Regions from separate parts of the Homo sapiens genome. Here all the other regions are linked to region 1. Evidence: promoter capture Hi-C in human tissues and cell types (Jung and others, 2019). All regions are on one chromosome and are shown on one strand. Each heading gives the region's core, a stretch centred on a gene start or on the middle of the fragment in contact. The rest is flanking DNA. Distances are from core to core; before and after follow the strand shown. Region 1 holds the start of TLCD2 (TLC domain containing 2). Region 2 overlaps METTL16 (methyltransferase 16, RNA N6-adenosine). Region 3 has its middle 14 kb from the start of ABR-AS1. Region 4 overlaps SMG6 (SMG6 nonsense mediated mRNA decay factor).

Region 1 (3,242 bases), core at 1-2,500:
AAAAATGTTGAGTGGTTATCTTTGTATGGTGGAACAAAGTCACTGTAATTTTCATCTTTGGTTTTTCTGTAATTTCCAAATTTTCCACATTTTGTATTTCATATAATATAATTTAAGAGATCAGTGTTATTATTTAAACCTTTGGAGAGGTGGGGGTAGAAGAATGAAGGGAAGACCTCAGCTTTTTGGTGAGAAGGTTTGGTTGGGGCACCTCTTGGTTTATGAACTTAATTCTTTGAAGTAGCTGGAATCCTCCCTCTCAGCCTGCAGGAAACAGCTCTGACTTGCTGACTGTCTGCCAGCTGAAGAGGTGGAGTGGAGTAAGGTGGAAGGAAAGCAGTGCAACCTGGGGCTCTTCAGGTGGTGAGGGGCTGGGGGAGGCTCTTCCTCTTAAGGCTGGAGGGTTCTGGAATCCTAACCGCCCTGCTACTAAGAGCAGGACAGGTCTGTTTTTCTCTTCTGACTCTGTCCCAGCCTTGAAGGGACCCTGTGTTACCTTTCCTTGCCCTCGGATTGAAGATATTCTACCCACCCAACGGGTACCAAGCCCTTGGGGAAGGAAGTGCTTTTCAAGACTGGGGGCCAGCGATTCCCTTTTGCGTCCTCTTCCTAATGAGGCTCCTCCGTAGGGCCGAAAACAATGCTGGGGGTCGGGGCGGGGCCCAGTGGGTCGCTTCTCCAACATGGGGTCTCCTGGGGGTTGTGGGGGAGGGGGAGCAGAACTGCTGGAATTACAGGTTTGCCGGGATATGGTAAAGGCGTGGAAACCTCAGGAGGCCGAAGGGGTGGCTCCAAGAAAGTGGGGCACCCCGTCCCCACCACGGACGCGGGGAGGGAAGTGGGGGCGGCGGCCAGGCTCGGGCAGGTACGAGTGGGCTGCGCTAGCCTCTGCCTTGCAGGGTGTGGCGGTGGGTGGTGATGACGCTCAGCAGGTGAAAGTCGCGGGAGCCGGGAAGAGGTCAAGGTTCGTGGGTGGGGCCCGGGAGTGTCAGTTGAGGTTAGACTGGAGACCCAGGTCTGCAACTCCAGCGCTTCAGGACGCTTGGAGCTGGGGAGGACCCCTATTGGCGAACATCCCGGAGGCCCCCCGAGCTCCAGGGCATGGTCTACTGCCCGGAGCCCCCGAACCGCTCCCCCGGCTGGAGCAAGACGCAATCGGTGGCCAAGGCTCCGGGGGCGGCGGCCCCGCGGCTGCTCCAATCACCGCCCAGGCGAGGGACTGGGCGTGGACGAACGGGGAAAAGTTCCTGCTGATCCCAAAGGCGCGGCGGGGAGGGGAGCCGGGGCCCCAGCCCTGCCGGGAAACGGGTTCCCAGTCCCGGCCGAGAGCGCGGGCGCCGAGGGGACCGACCCGGACTCCCCGCAACCCCCCAACCGCCAGGCCATGGCGCCCACGGGGCTCCTGGTGGCCGGCGCCTCCTTCCTCGCGTTCCGGGGGCTGCACTGGGGGTTGCGGCGGCTGCCCACGCCGGAATCGGCCGCTCGGGACCGCTGGCAGTGGTGGAACCTCTGCGTCTCCCTGGCGCACAGCCTGCTCTCGGGGACCGGGGCGCTGCTCGGGTGCGGGCTTGGGGGCTCGAGGCGCACGGGGCGAGGGCGAGGGGTGGGAGGCTGAGGCCGGGAGACCCGCCGGGCGTCTCCAGAGCTGAGACTGGGGTGGGGGTGCGCACAGGGAGACTGCGGCCGGGGCCTCGAGAGGCTGACCATGCCCCCCCCCATGTCCCCACCCCATGCCCCCAGCCTGTCACTGTACCCTCAGATGGCCGCCGACCCCATCCATGGCCACCCGCGCTGGGCTCTGGTGCTGGTGGCTGTGTCTGTGGGTGAGTCTGCAGGGAAGGCTGGGCCGGTGGTGGGGATGGGGCGGGGGGCAGGTTCTGCTGTCCTTCCAGGTCCATTCCCCGCCCCCATGGGGGTTAAACGTTCCTGAAGGCTTTACCAAGGGAAAACTAAGAACTGGGAGAGGGGCGGGGCGGGGGGGCTGGAAATCCTCTCTAAGCTGCCCGGGCTCTGGAGCAGCCTAACCCCTACCCCCATGCCCACAGGTTACTTCCTGGCAGACGGAGCTGACCTGCTGTGGAACCAGACCTTGGGCAAGACCTGGGATCTTCTCTGTCATCATTTGGTGGTGAGACTCTGAGGGCAGAAGCCAGACAGGAAGGGAGGAGGGGAGCCCTGTCCAGCCCGAGGTTCCCAGTCTCTCCTCATTCTTTTTTTTTTTTTTTTTTTTTTTTTTTGAGACGGAGTCTCACTCTGTCACCCAGGCTGGGGTCCAGTGGTTCGGCCTCTGTTCACTGCAACCTTCGCCTCCTGGGTTCAAGCAATTCTCCTGCCTCAGCCTCCCACGTAGCTGGGATTACAGGCACCCGCCACCACGCCCAAGTAATTTTTTGTATTTTTAGTAAAGACGGGGTTTCTCCATGTTGGCCAGGCTGGTCTCGAACTTCTGACCTCAGGTGATCCGCCCACTTCAGCCTTCCAAAGTGCTGGGATTACAAGCATGAGCCACCGCCCCCGGCCCTCTCTTCATTTTGCTGTCCTATAATTTCCCACAGTCTCTGCCCCCAGCTGGTGCTTGGCTCCCAGTCTTAGGCTGAGTTAGGGGGAGGAGGTGGCTGCTGGCCACAGCTGGGGAGTCCAGATACCCACCAGGCCAGGGCACCTACCATGCCAGGGCACTCACCATACAAGGGCACCCACCATGCCAGGGCACCCACCATGTGAGCCTAAGGAGTTTGGGTGCCCCCACAGGTGTCCAGCTGATCACAGAAATGTGGAATATGGAGCTTTTCTGAGAAGGGGGTGTCCTGGTATAGGGTGTGGGTATGGGGCATGAAAGCCCTAGGCCAGGCACGGTGGCTTATGCCTATAATCCCAGCACACTGGGAGGCCGAGGCGGGTGGATCACGAGGTCAGGAGATCGAGACCATCCTGACTAACAGTGAAACCCCGTCTCTACTAAAAATACAAAAATTACCTGGGTGTGGTGGCGCGCACCGGTAGTCCCAGCTACTCTGGAAGCTGAGGCAGGAGAATTGCTTGAACCCAGGAGGCAGAGGTTGCAGTGAGCCAAGATCACACCACTGCACTCCAGCCTGGTGGCAGAGTGAGAGTCTGTCTCGAAAAAAAAAAAAAAAAAAAAAAAAAGCAAGCAAGCCCAGGAATGGGAGGTTAAGGGGGTATTAGGGGGTGAGACAGCCCCTCCCTGGGCCAAGCCTGGTTCCATCTATGGAAGGGTTGTT
Region 2 (3,242 bases), core at 423-2,922, 770 kb before region 1:
ACACTTAATAACTATTTGTTGAATGAATAAAGGAATGCATGCCAGCTGTCACAGTTTCTTAAAAATTCTGACCTATTCTGTATACCTCAGTTGAACAAAGTAGTGCTCAAAATAAACATTTTTATATTTCACTTTTAAAAGTAGAGTAGCCAAGTACCCCAACTTTCTTTACAATTCTACTGTTTACAATTGAGTAGAGCAGTGGTCTCCAACCTTTTTGGCACCAGGGACCAGTTTCACGGATGACAATTTTTTCATGGACCTGTGGTGGGGGAGGGGTGATTTCGGGATGATTCAAGCGCATTACATTTATTGTACATTTATTACGTTGTATTATTTCATGTAATGAAATAATTATACAACTCACCATAGTGTAGAATCAGCTTGTTTTCCCGCAGCTTGTTTCCCCTCAGCTAGACGGTCCCATATGGGGGTGATGGGAGACAGTGACAGATCATCAGGCTTTAGATCCTCAAGGAGTGCTCAACCTAGATCCCTCGCATGCGGCGTTCCCAGGAGGGTTCACGCTCCTGTGAGAATCTAATGCTGCGCTGATCTGACAGGAGGCGGAGCTGAGGCAGTAATGTGAGCAATGGAAAGTGGCTGTAAATTCAGATGAAGCTTTGCTTGCCTCTCACCTCCTGCTGTGCGGCACAAGTCCTAACAGGCCAGGGACCAATATCAGTCCATGGCCCAGGGGTTGGGGACTCCTGTAATAGAGGGTGCGGCCCATTAGCCTGTGAATTGTATAAGGCTTGCAGTTATTATTTATTGCCCATATTAATCTTAAGAATCAGATCCATTTCATATGAAAACATGGATCACTGGTTTTGTTTGAAAGTATTAGAGAGCTGGCAAAACCGGGCTGGCAAATCCACACAACATTAACTACTTAGAGTGGTGGTCACCAGGCGCGGTGGCTCACACCTGTAATCCCAGCACTTTGGGAGGCCGAGGCAGGCAGTATGCCTGAGGTCAGGAGTTCAAGACCAGCCTGGCCAACATGGCGAAACCCCGTCTCTACTAAAAATACAAAATTAGCCGGGCATGGTGGTACATGTCTGTAGTCCTATCTACTCAGGAGGTTGAGGCAGAAGAGTCGCCTGAAGCCGGGAGGTGGAGGTTGCAGTGAGCTGATATTGCGCCATTGAACTCCAGGCTGGGCGACAAGAACGAAACTTCGTCTCAAAAAAAAAAAAAGAACAGAGTAGTGGTCATAACCTTTGAAATGGTCATTTGTGGCATCTGGCATAGTGCTACTAAAAGTGGTTATTGAACTGGCTGCTTAACCACAGACTATTTGTTACTGTCCACAGAGATAAGGACCTTGTGCCGTATGTTTAGGTTACCTCACATTTCTTTGGTTTAATTGACTTTTTAATGTGTTGTTTACATTCTGGCACAAGCTCTTTATCTTGTCAGGGACTGGCATTTTGAGTAGTACCAATAGCTATTCCTTATAAATATTTTGAAACCCCTGATTTTCACAATTACTTTGAAATGCCAGTGCAAAATAGCAATACTTTTGTTACTATTTACTGCCCTTAGATAATACTCTTTATCAAGCTTATTTTATAAGTAAGTTACTAAGTTTCTTTAATAGAGATTTTTCTGAAAACTTTTTTCTCCTCAAATTCCTTTTACCATGAAATTTTACGTTTGAGATATTAAGCCTTTGAACATAGACATGGGATATTTTTCCTTTTGTGTGTTTAGCAGTGAAATTTAGTTAATAGGTCAGGCTACCATTCTCGAGTTAAAGACACGAATGTGTTTGAATGCCTTAGCATGGTACTTAGATGTGAACTTCTTCGTCATATGTAAAACTTGACTTTCATTCCTATGTCATTGAAGGAAATGGAATTGGCCCATTTTTCTCACACACTTGACTGATTTCACAGGAATAAAATATTCTCGTTAGAAGTAAAACTGAAGTGCTTATAGATTTTATACCTTTTTATTGCTCATCATTTATCTTGTTGATCCTGAGTTTATACTGCTTTTAGTCGAGTAAGAAATACAAAGATAGTGCAAATCTTTTTTTTATGTGAAAATTGATTGAGGCCATTGCGTGCTATTGAGTAAAGCAGAAATGTGTTCGTGGTTGTTGCCCCTGGATTAACCCTCTTTTATTAGCCCCCATAAATGACAAAATTAATACATATCCAATTCTGATGTCTAAGAATAAACTTAATACCCCTTTAAATAGACTTAATGTATTTTAATGAGACTTTTAATTGCTAGCATATATTTATGCAATAAACTTCTGCTTCCACTGTCCTATAGAAGCTGTTCTTTAAAACCAACACCCACAGAAATGGAGTCAGTCACTTTTTAAAGTTATTATTCTCTTGACCTCCATCAGCATTTTATATTTTTAACCCATTCTACATAGTTGCTCATTTAATCCTTTTGATCCAAAAATTAAGGTTGTCTGTTGTGAAATAACTCCTATTTTCATTTTTATTTGTAGTTGTCTGGGATACTTTTGGTTAAGCTTTTATTTTCAACCTTTGGATCATTTTGTTTTAGCCGTAGTTTTTGTTTAAAACAGTTTATTGTAATTAGTTGGTTTTGTCTTTTGTAATCTAATCTGAGAGTATTATGAGTTTACTATTTACATTCATTTCACATTCATTTTATATCATGCTTTGTTCTTGCTGCTTTTTTTTTTTAACACTATATGATCTGATTTTCACCTACCTTTCCTTTACTGCCCCTGATTTTATTTGATTATATTATTTATCTTCATTCTTCTAGTGTTAATATTATTATTATTATTATTTTTGAGACAGGGTCCCACTCTGTCACCCAGGCTGGAGTGCAGTGATGGGATCTTGGCTCACTGCAGCCTTGATCTCCTGGGCTCAAGTGATCCTCCTGCCTCCTGCGTAGCGGGGACCGCAGGCTCACACAACCACCATACTCCACATCCAGCTAATTTTTGTACTATTTGTAGAGACGGGCTTTCGCCATGTTGCCCAGGCTGGTCTCAAGCTCCTGAGCTCAAGCAGTCCGCCCACCTCGGCCTCCCAAAGTGCTGAGATTACAGGTGTGAGCCATTGGGCCCAGCCAGTTTATCTTCCTAAATGTGTGCTTCTATCTCTGCTACTTAGTTTATCAGCCTTAAATGAAGTCTTTTGACCCTGTGTATAAAAGCTGAGGCACTCCCTCTCCATTTCCTGTTTCCTGTCCCGAATTTTGATTATGTGTATGTTGTCGTGGTTTGTAAACACTTACAT
Region 3 (3,242 bases), core at 376-2,875, 520 kb after region 1:
CAGGATCGCGCCACTGCACTCCAGCCTGGGCGACAGAGCAAGACTCCGTCTCAAAAAAAAAAAAAAAAGGAAGGTTGGATCTCCTGTAGCTTCCTGTGGTGCCGTCTTCTCCCAGGGACTCGAGCCTTGTTCAGAGCACTGACAGGATTTTTCAGAAAGTTCTGTGTGTGTGGCTGCTCTTTGGTAAGCCCAGGGCAACAGAGTCATCAACATTTAGGGAGGGGGTGGGTGAGGCAGGATGTAGAGTTAATACCCAGTTTTGTCCTATGTTCCTCTGAGAAGTTAGCTAAGAAATCTTTTCTAAATTAAATTTAATTAATTAATTTGTTTTTTGGGCCAGAGTTTTCACTCTTGTCACCCAGGCTGGAGTGCAGTGGTGTGATGTCAGCTCACTGTGACCTCCACCTCCTGGGTTCAAGTGATTCTCCTGCCTCAGCCTCCCGAGTAGCTGGGATTACAGGCACGTGCCACCATGCCCAGCTAATTTTTGTATTTGTAGTAGAAAGAGGGTTTCGCCATGTTGGCCAGGCTGGTCTTGAACTCCTGACCTCAGGTGATCCGCCTGCCTCGGCCTCCCAAAGTGCCGGGATTATAGGCGTGAGCCACCGCACCTTGCCTATTTTTTTTTTTTTTTTTGAGACAGAATCTCGCTCTGTTGCTCAGGCTGGAGTGCAGTGTCGTGATCTCGGCTCACTGCAACCTTCTCCTTCTTGGTTCAAGCGATCCTCGTGCCTCAGCCACCTGAGTACCTGGGATTACAGGCACCTGCTACCATGCCTGGCTAATTTTTGTATTTTTAGTAGAGATGGGGTTTTGCCATGTTGCCCAGGCTCGTCTCGCACTCCTGACCTCAAGTGATCCCTGACCTCAAGTGATCTCTCCCCACAATCCCAACTTGCCTTCCCAAAGTTCTGGGATTACAGGCGTGAGCCACCGCGCCGGCCAATAATTTTTTTTTTTTGAGACAGAGTCTCGCTCTGTTGCGCAGGCTGGAGTGCAGTGACACGATCTCGGCTCACTGCAACCTTTGCCTCCCGGGTTCACACCATTCTCCTGCCTCAGCCTCCTGTGTAGCTGGGACTACAGGCGCCCACCACCACGCCCGGCTAATTTGTTGTATTTTTAGTAGAGACGGGGTTTCACCGTGTTAGCCAGGATGGTCTCGATCTCCTGACCTCGTGATCCACCCGCCTCGGCCTCCCACAGTGCTGGGATGACAGGCGTGAGCCACTGCCCAGCCAATAATTTTCTTTAAAATGCTCCTTACGCTACTTGCTGAGCCTGGGTCAGGCAGGGCTGGGGGCTGCCTTTGGGAGAGAGATACACCAGAGACTAGTTAATCACTGTAGCAGTAGAAAACACCCTTAAGGGCCGGGCCTGATGGCTCACGCCTGTAATCCCAGCACTTGGAGAGGCCAAGGTGGGAGGATCCTTTGAGGCCAGGACTTTTTTTTTTTTTTGAGACAGTCTCATTCTGTCGCCCAGGCTGGAGTGCTGTGGCGCGATCTCCGCTCACTGCAAGCTCCGCCTTCCGGGTTCACGCCATTCTCCTGCCTCAGCCTCCCGAGTAGCTGGGACTACAGGCGCCCGCCACTGCGCCCGGCTAATTTTTTGTATTTTTAGTAGAGACGGGGTTTCACCGTGTTAGCCAGGATGGTCTCGATCTCCTGACCTCGTGATCCGCCCGCCTCGGCCTCCCAAAGTGCTGGGATTACAGGCGTGAGCCACCGCGCCTGGCCTGAGGCCAGGACTTCAAGAGCAGCCTGGGCAACATAGTGAGGTTCTGTCTGTACAAAATTAAAAAAAAAATTAGGGTCGGGCGCGGTGGCTCACACCTGTAATTCCAGCACTTTAGGAGGCCGAGGTGGGTGAATCACCTGAGTCAGGAGTTCGAGACCAGTCTGGCCAACATGGCGAAACCCTGTCTCTACTAAAAATACAAAATTTTTAGGGCATGGTGGCACATGCCTGTAATCCCAGCTACTAGGGGGGCTGAGGCAGGAGGATTGCTTGAACCCGGGAGGTGGAGGTTGCAGTGAGCTGAGACCGCACCACTGCACTCCAGCCTGGGCAACAGAGCGAGACTCCATCTTAAAAAAAAAAAAATTAGCTGGGTGTGGTGGTGCATGCCTGTAGTCCTAGCTATGCAAGAAGTTGAGGCAGGGGGATGGCTTGAGCCTGGGAGGTCGAGACTGTAGTGAGCTATGATTGCACCACTACACTCCAGTCTGGGCGATAGAGTGAGACTTGTCTCTAAAAAATAAAGAAGGCTGGGCGAAGTGTCTCACACCTGTAATCCCAGCACTTTGGGAAGACGAGGCAGGCAGATCACCTGAGGTCAGGAGTTGAGACCAGCATGGCCAACATGGTGAAACCCCTCTCTACTAAAAATACAAAACAAAACAAAAAAATAGCTGGGCGTGGTGGCGTGTACCTGTAATCTTAGCTACTTGGGAGGCTGAGGCAAGAGAATTACTTGAACCCGGGAGGCGGAGGTTGCAGTGAGCCAAGATCGTGCCATTGCACTCCAGCCTGGGCGACAGAGAGAGACTCTGTCTCAATCAATCAATCAAAATATAAATAAATAAAAAAAAACAAAGGAAACACCCTTGCCACCAGAGATCCTCCAGGTACAAACCTCATGTTCAAGGAGAAATCAAAAGACCCAGGAGCTTGTCAGATTTCAGTAGAGGAGAAAGAGGATGGAAATTCATCTTTGTGTCTTCCTTCCTCTGCCACTTCCCCTGGAGAGTAAGCTTTAAGAGCTGCAGTGGCCAGGCGCGGGGCTCACGCCTGTTATCCCAGCACTTTGAGAGGCCAAGGTGGGCAGATCACGAGGTCAGGAGATCAAAACCATCCTGGCTAACACGGTGAAACCCCGTCTCTATTAAAAATACAAAAAAAAAATTAGCTGGGCGTGGTGGCGGGTGCCTGTAGTCCCAGTTATTCAGGAGGCTGAGGCAGGTGAATCGCTTCAACCTGGGAGGCGGAGGATGCAGTGAGCCGAGATTGTGCCACTGCACTCCACACTCCAGCCTGGGGGACAGAGGGAGACTCTATCTCAAACATAAAAACACACAAACAAAAAGGGCTGCACTGATGTGCTTGAATTAGCGTCAGTTGCCAGTACTCCCTGGCGTGCTGGAAACCGAGCTCTTCCTGAGTGAATGTCGGGCGGCATCTGGTCAGGATGCTTTCCTGAAGCTTCAGGACTGGTGGCCAGGTACAATTGCTCTGGACCG
Region 4 (3,242 bases), core at 208-2,707, 510 kb before region 1:
GCTGTGTCCATGCAGCCTTGGAAAGCAAAGCTCGAGTTCATCAGGTAGCAAATGTTCTTAGGGTAAAGGCTGTTTGTAATGCCACACTTACCTATCTGGTTTCCCATCTTTATTCAATCTCTGACCAAAGGATTTTCTTTTATTTTACTAGCTCACGAATGCTTTTCAAAAAGATGTTTAACATACTCTTTTTTTCAGAATAATGAGCTGTTTGATTGGGAGAATGGATCTAGGTGTCTAGTCTGCCGTACTACCAGAGGAAGCTGGGATTTCCTTGTTCCATCAGACTTACTCAGACTTTCTTTCTTTTCTTTTCTTTTTTTTTGCTCTGCCTGTGATGCCCATGAGCAGTGTGACTGGGCACCTACATCCAGGGTGGCAAGGGCATGTAGTTTGCTCTTCCAAAGATTAGTTTCTTTTCCAGCTCCTGCCCATTTACAGCTCAGTCTTATGGCAAATGGTGTCATTGGGCTCACATTTTTTCATTTTTCCAAGAGGTGTCCAGTGTATAGAATATCACTTAGAGGGCTAATTGGGTGGGGAAGAAAGATCAAAGGAGTGGAGAGGAAAGGCTGCAGCTGAAGTGATAGGAGCCATTTATTGACAAAAAGATGTGAGTTAGAGATTTGGAAAAGAGTACTCTGTTGTTTCAGCTACATCACATTATATATCTGGTGAACCTTGCTGGCCCATGAAATCCTTTCCATTAGTCAGGGTTCTCTGTGCTTTTGTTCTTGACTACTGCTGTTCTTAGTGCTATTCGGTTTGCTTGTATGTCTCAGTTTCCTTTTCAGAAGGCAGATTGTCGTCTATTTAGGAATGCATTTACTGTAATTGGAGTGTTCTGGCTTGTTTAGTCCCCTCTTCAAATATAAGACTCATATCTTGAAGCTTATGTTCAGAAAATATGCGCGTGTGATCCCTTTGCCCCAAGTGCCAACAGCAGATGTAGCAGTTGACACGCTGCAGGGAATTTCCAACTGCTGGGCAGGTTTCTGAAATCCGGACACGTGCTGTTCACACTTTGGCTTCTGAGGCAAGGATCAGTGGTTGAAAGAGGGGAGGAGCTGGCAGGGGACTGCAGGGAGAAAGATCTTATAATGCCTGCCCAGGGCTTTAGGCTGTGTCAGCTTTCTGCATCTCTTCTCCAGCTGGAGCTGGCAGGGTCGAATAAATCACTGCAGAGTAGTTATGAGCCCAGCTCACCAGGGACTTCTTTGAGGCACACCTGTGACGTCATCCTGTTATCACTGTCTGTTCCACATAACCTCTTTTCACCTCTCCCCTGAGAGAGGGTGATGCCCAGAACTCATGTCAGGGCAATGAGCAGAGGAAAATGTTTCGTAAGTATTATTTTTCAGATGCCTGCTAGGGATACAGTTGTAGGCCATTGACACATTCTTCAATATTCCTCATTGGAAGAGAAAACCTGTGTTTGCAAACATGGCCTGAATACCCCTTGTGGATAAAACTTCTTTTTAAACTTGGAAAGAAAGTCTTGAAACTCCTAAGTGGTCTCTTTTTGTACCCCTTACCTCTCTCGTTCCTTCCCAAACATGCACACACAGACACATTACATACAGAGTCTGCTGTGTTCAAAATCCTTCACTGACTTCCCATTTCACTCAGTGTAAAAGCCACATTATTTACAAGGCCTTCATATATGGACCTCTTCTCCTGCCCCCCCCCCCCCCCCCCGCCCCCGCATTGCCTCTCTCTGAGCTCATTCACGACTGTTCTCCCCATGGCTTGGTTACTCTGCTTCAGCCACACTACCCTTCTTGCAAGTTCTCTGCTAAGCTGGGGACTCTCCCACCTTTGGCCCTTCGCATTAGCTGTTTTCTCTGTTTGGAATGTTCTGCATCCAGCCATCTGTCTGGTGAATACCTCGCCTCCTATAAGTCTTTGCTTAATGTTACTTCTGTGAGACCTGCCCCAACCATCCTATTTAACACTGCTGCATTCTACTCCAAACCTGCACTCTTTATCTTCCAATTCTATTGATTTATTTTCTAAATACTAGATAATTAATGTGTATATGTTTATTATTTATTTTCCTCTACTATTCTGCAAGAATGTAAGCTCCCTGCTTATAGGGGTCTCTGGTCTGTTTTATCCACTGATACATTGTGAACATCTAAAACAGTCCCTGACCTGTTGTAACTTCTCAGTAAACATGCGTTATATCAAGTTCAAGTCAAAGAATAATTTGAGGCCAGGTGCCGTGGCCGACGTCTGTAATCCCAGCTCTTTGGGAGGCCAGTGCAGGTGGATCACTTGAGCTCAGGAATTCAAGACCAGCCTGGCCAACATGGCGAAACCCTGTCTTTACTAAAAAATACAAAAATTAGCCAGGCATGGTAGTAATCCCAGCTACTTGGGAGGCTGAGGCAGGAGACTGGCGTTAACCCGGGAGGTGGAGCTTGCAGTGAGCCGAGATCACCCCATTGCACTCCAGCCTGGGCAACATTGCAAGACTCCGTCTCAAAAAAAAGAATAATCTGTCAGCAGGTCAGCCTGGACAATGAAGATTGAATGGCAAGGGCAGGGGCATCTGTTAACTAGGTTACTGCTCATAATCTTACTGTCTTTCCTTGTTTTTTGTTAAGGTGACTTTCTTGAAAGCATAATTTCCAAATGCATATTTTACATCTGGCATTAAAGTAAAATCCATTAAATGTGCTTTGGTATCTACTGTTGTATTAATCCTTTCTCATACTGCCATAAAGACATACCTGAGGCTGGGTAATTTATAAAGAAAAGAAGTTTAATTGGCTCATAGTTCCACAGGCTGTACAGGAAACATGGCTAGGGAGGCCTCAGGAGAATCACAATCATGGTGGAAGGCAAAGAGGAAGGAGGCACGTCTTCCATGGCTGGAGCAGGAGGAAGAGAGTGAAGGGGGAGGGGCTACAGACTTTAAAACAACCAGATGTCCCGAGAGCTCCATCAGGAGATAGCACCAGGAGGATGGTGCTAAACCATCAGAAACCACCCCAGGATGCAGTCACCTCCTACCAGGCCCCACCTCCAGCACTGGAAATTACAATTCATCATGAGATTTGAGTGGAGACACAATCCAAACCATATCAGCTCTTAACCCTGGAGTAAATATCATTGGGGCTCTGGAAAGTAAATTTCTATAGAACAGCGTAAGTTCAGTCCTTTCTGGTCTCTTGAATCTTTCATCTTTTACTCTCTGTCCTTTCTTCCTGACTAGAAATACTTTTTTATTTCCCTAC

The links. Contacts are between HindIII fragments. The study calls those that stand out against the background at their distance.
Region 2: a contact is called between a fragment that was not itself captured here and the fragment with the promoter of TLCD2 in region 1, in 1 of the 25 tissues and cell types used here (H1 embryonic stem cells).
Region 3: a fragment that was not itself captured here is called in contact with the fragment with the promoter of TLCD2 in region 1 in 1 of the 25 tissues and cell types used here (dorsolateral prefrontal cortex).
Region 4: a fragment that was not itself captured here is called in contact with the fragment with the promoter of TLCD2 in region 1 in 1 of the 25 tissues and cell types used here (dorsolateral prefrontal cortex).

Annotation. Positions count from the first base shown.
Region 1 is chr17:1,708,385-1,711,626 of GRCh38, reverse strand. It overlaps TLCD2 (TLC domain containing 2), which reads left to right and starts at 1,250. Exons shown (of 4, transcript NM_001164407.2): 1 at 1,250-1,560; 2 at 1,741-1,823; 3 at 2,046-2,128. The coding sequence starts at 1,385. MIR22HG (MIR22 host gene) reads left to right here. Exons shown (of 3, transcript NR_028505.2): 3 at 1-123. The HindIII fragment of the contact is 13,317 bases long and covers 1-3,242 here.
Region 2 is chr17:2,482,457-2,485,698 of GRCh38, reverse strand. All of the region lies in intron 2 of METTL16 (methyltransferase 16, RNA N6-adenosine), which reads left to right. Among named protein-coding and RNA genes, the nearest start is that of METTL16, 28 kb to the left of the region's middle. The HindIII fragment of the contact is 4,445 bases long and covers 1-3,242 here.
Region 3 is chr17:1,193,523-1,196,764 of GRCh38, reverse strand. It overlaps a transcript of ABR not described here. Among named protein-coding and RNA genes, the nearest start is that of ABR-AS1, 14 kb to the right of the region's middle. The HindIII fragment of the contact is 6,525 bases long and covers 1-3,242 here.
Region 4 is chr17:2,221,006-2,224,247 of GRCh38, reverse strand. All of the region lies in intron 10 of SMG6 (SMG6 nonsense mediated mRNA decay factor), which reads left to right. Among named protein-coding and RNA genes, the nearest start is that of SMG6, 81 kb to the left of the region's middle. The HindIII fragment of the contact is 7,215 bases long and covers 1-3,242 here.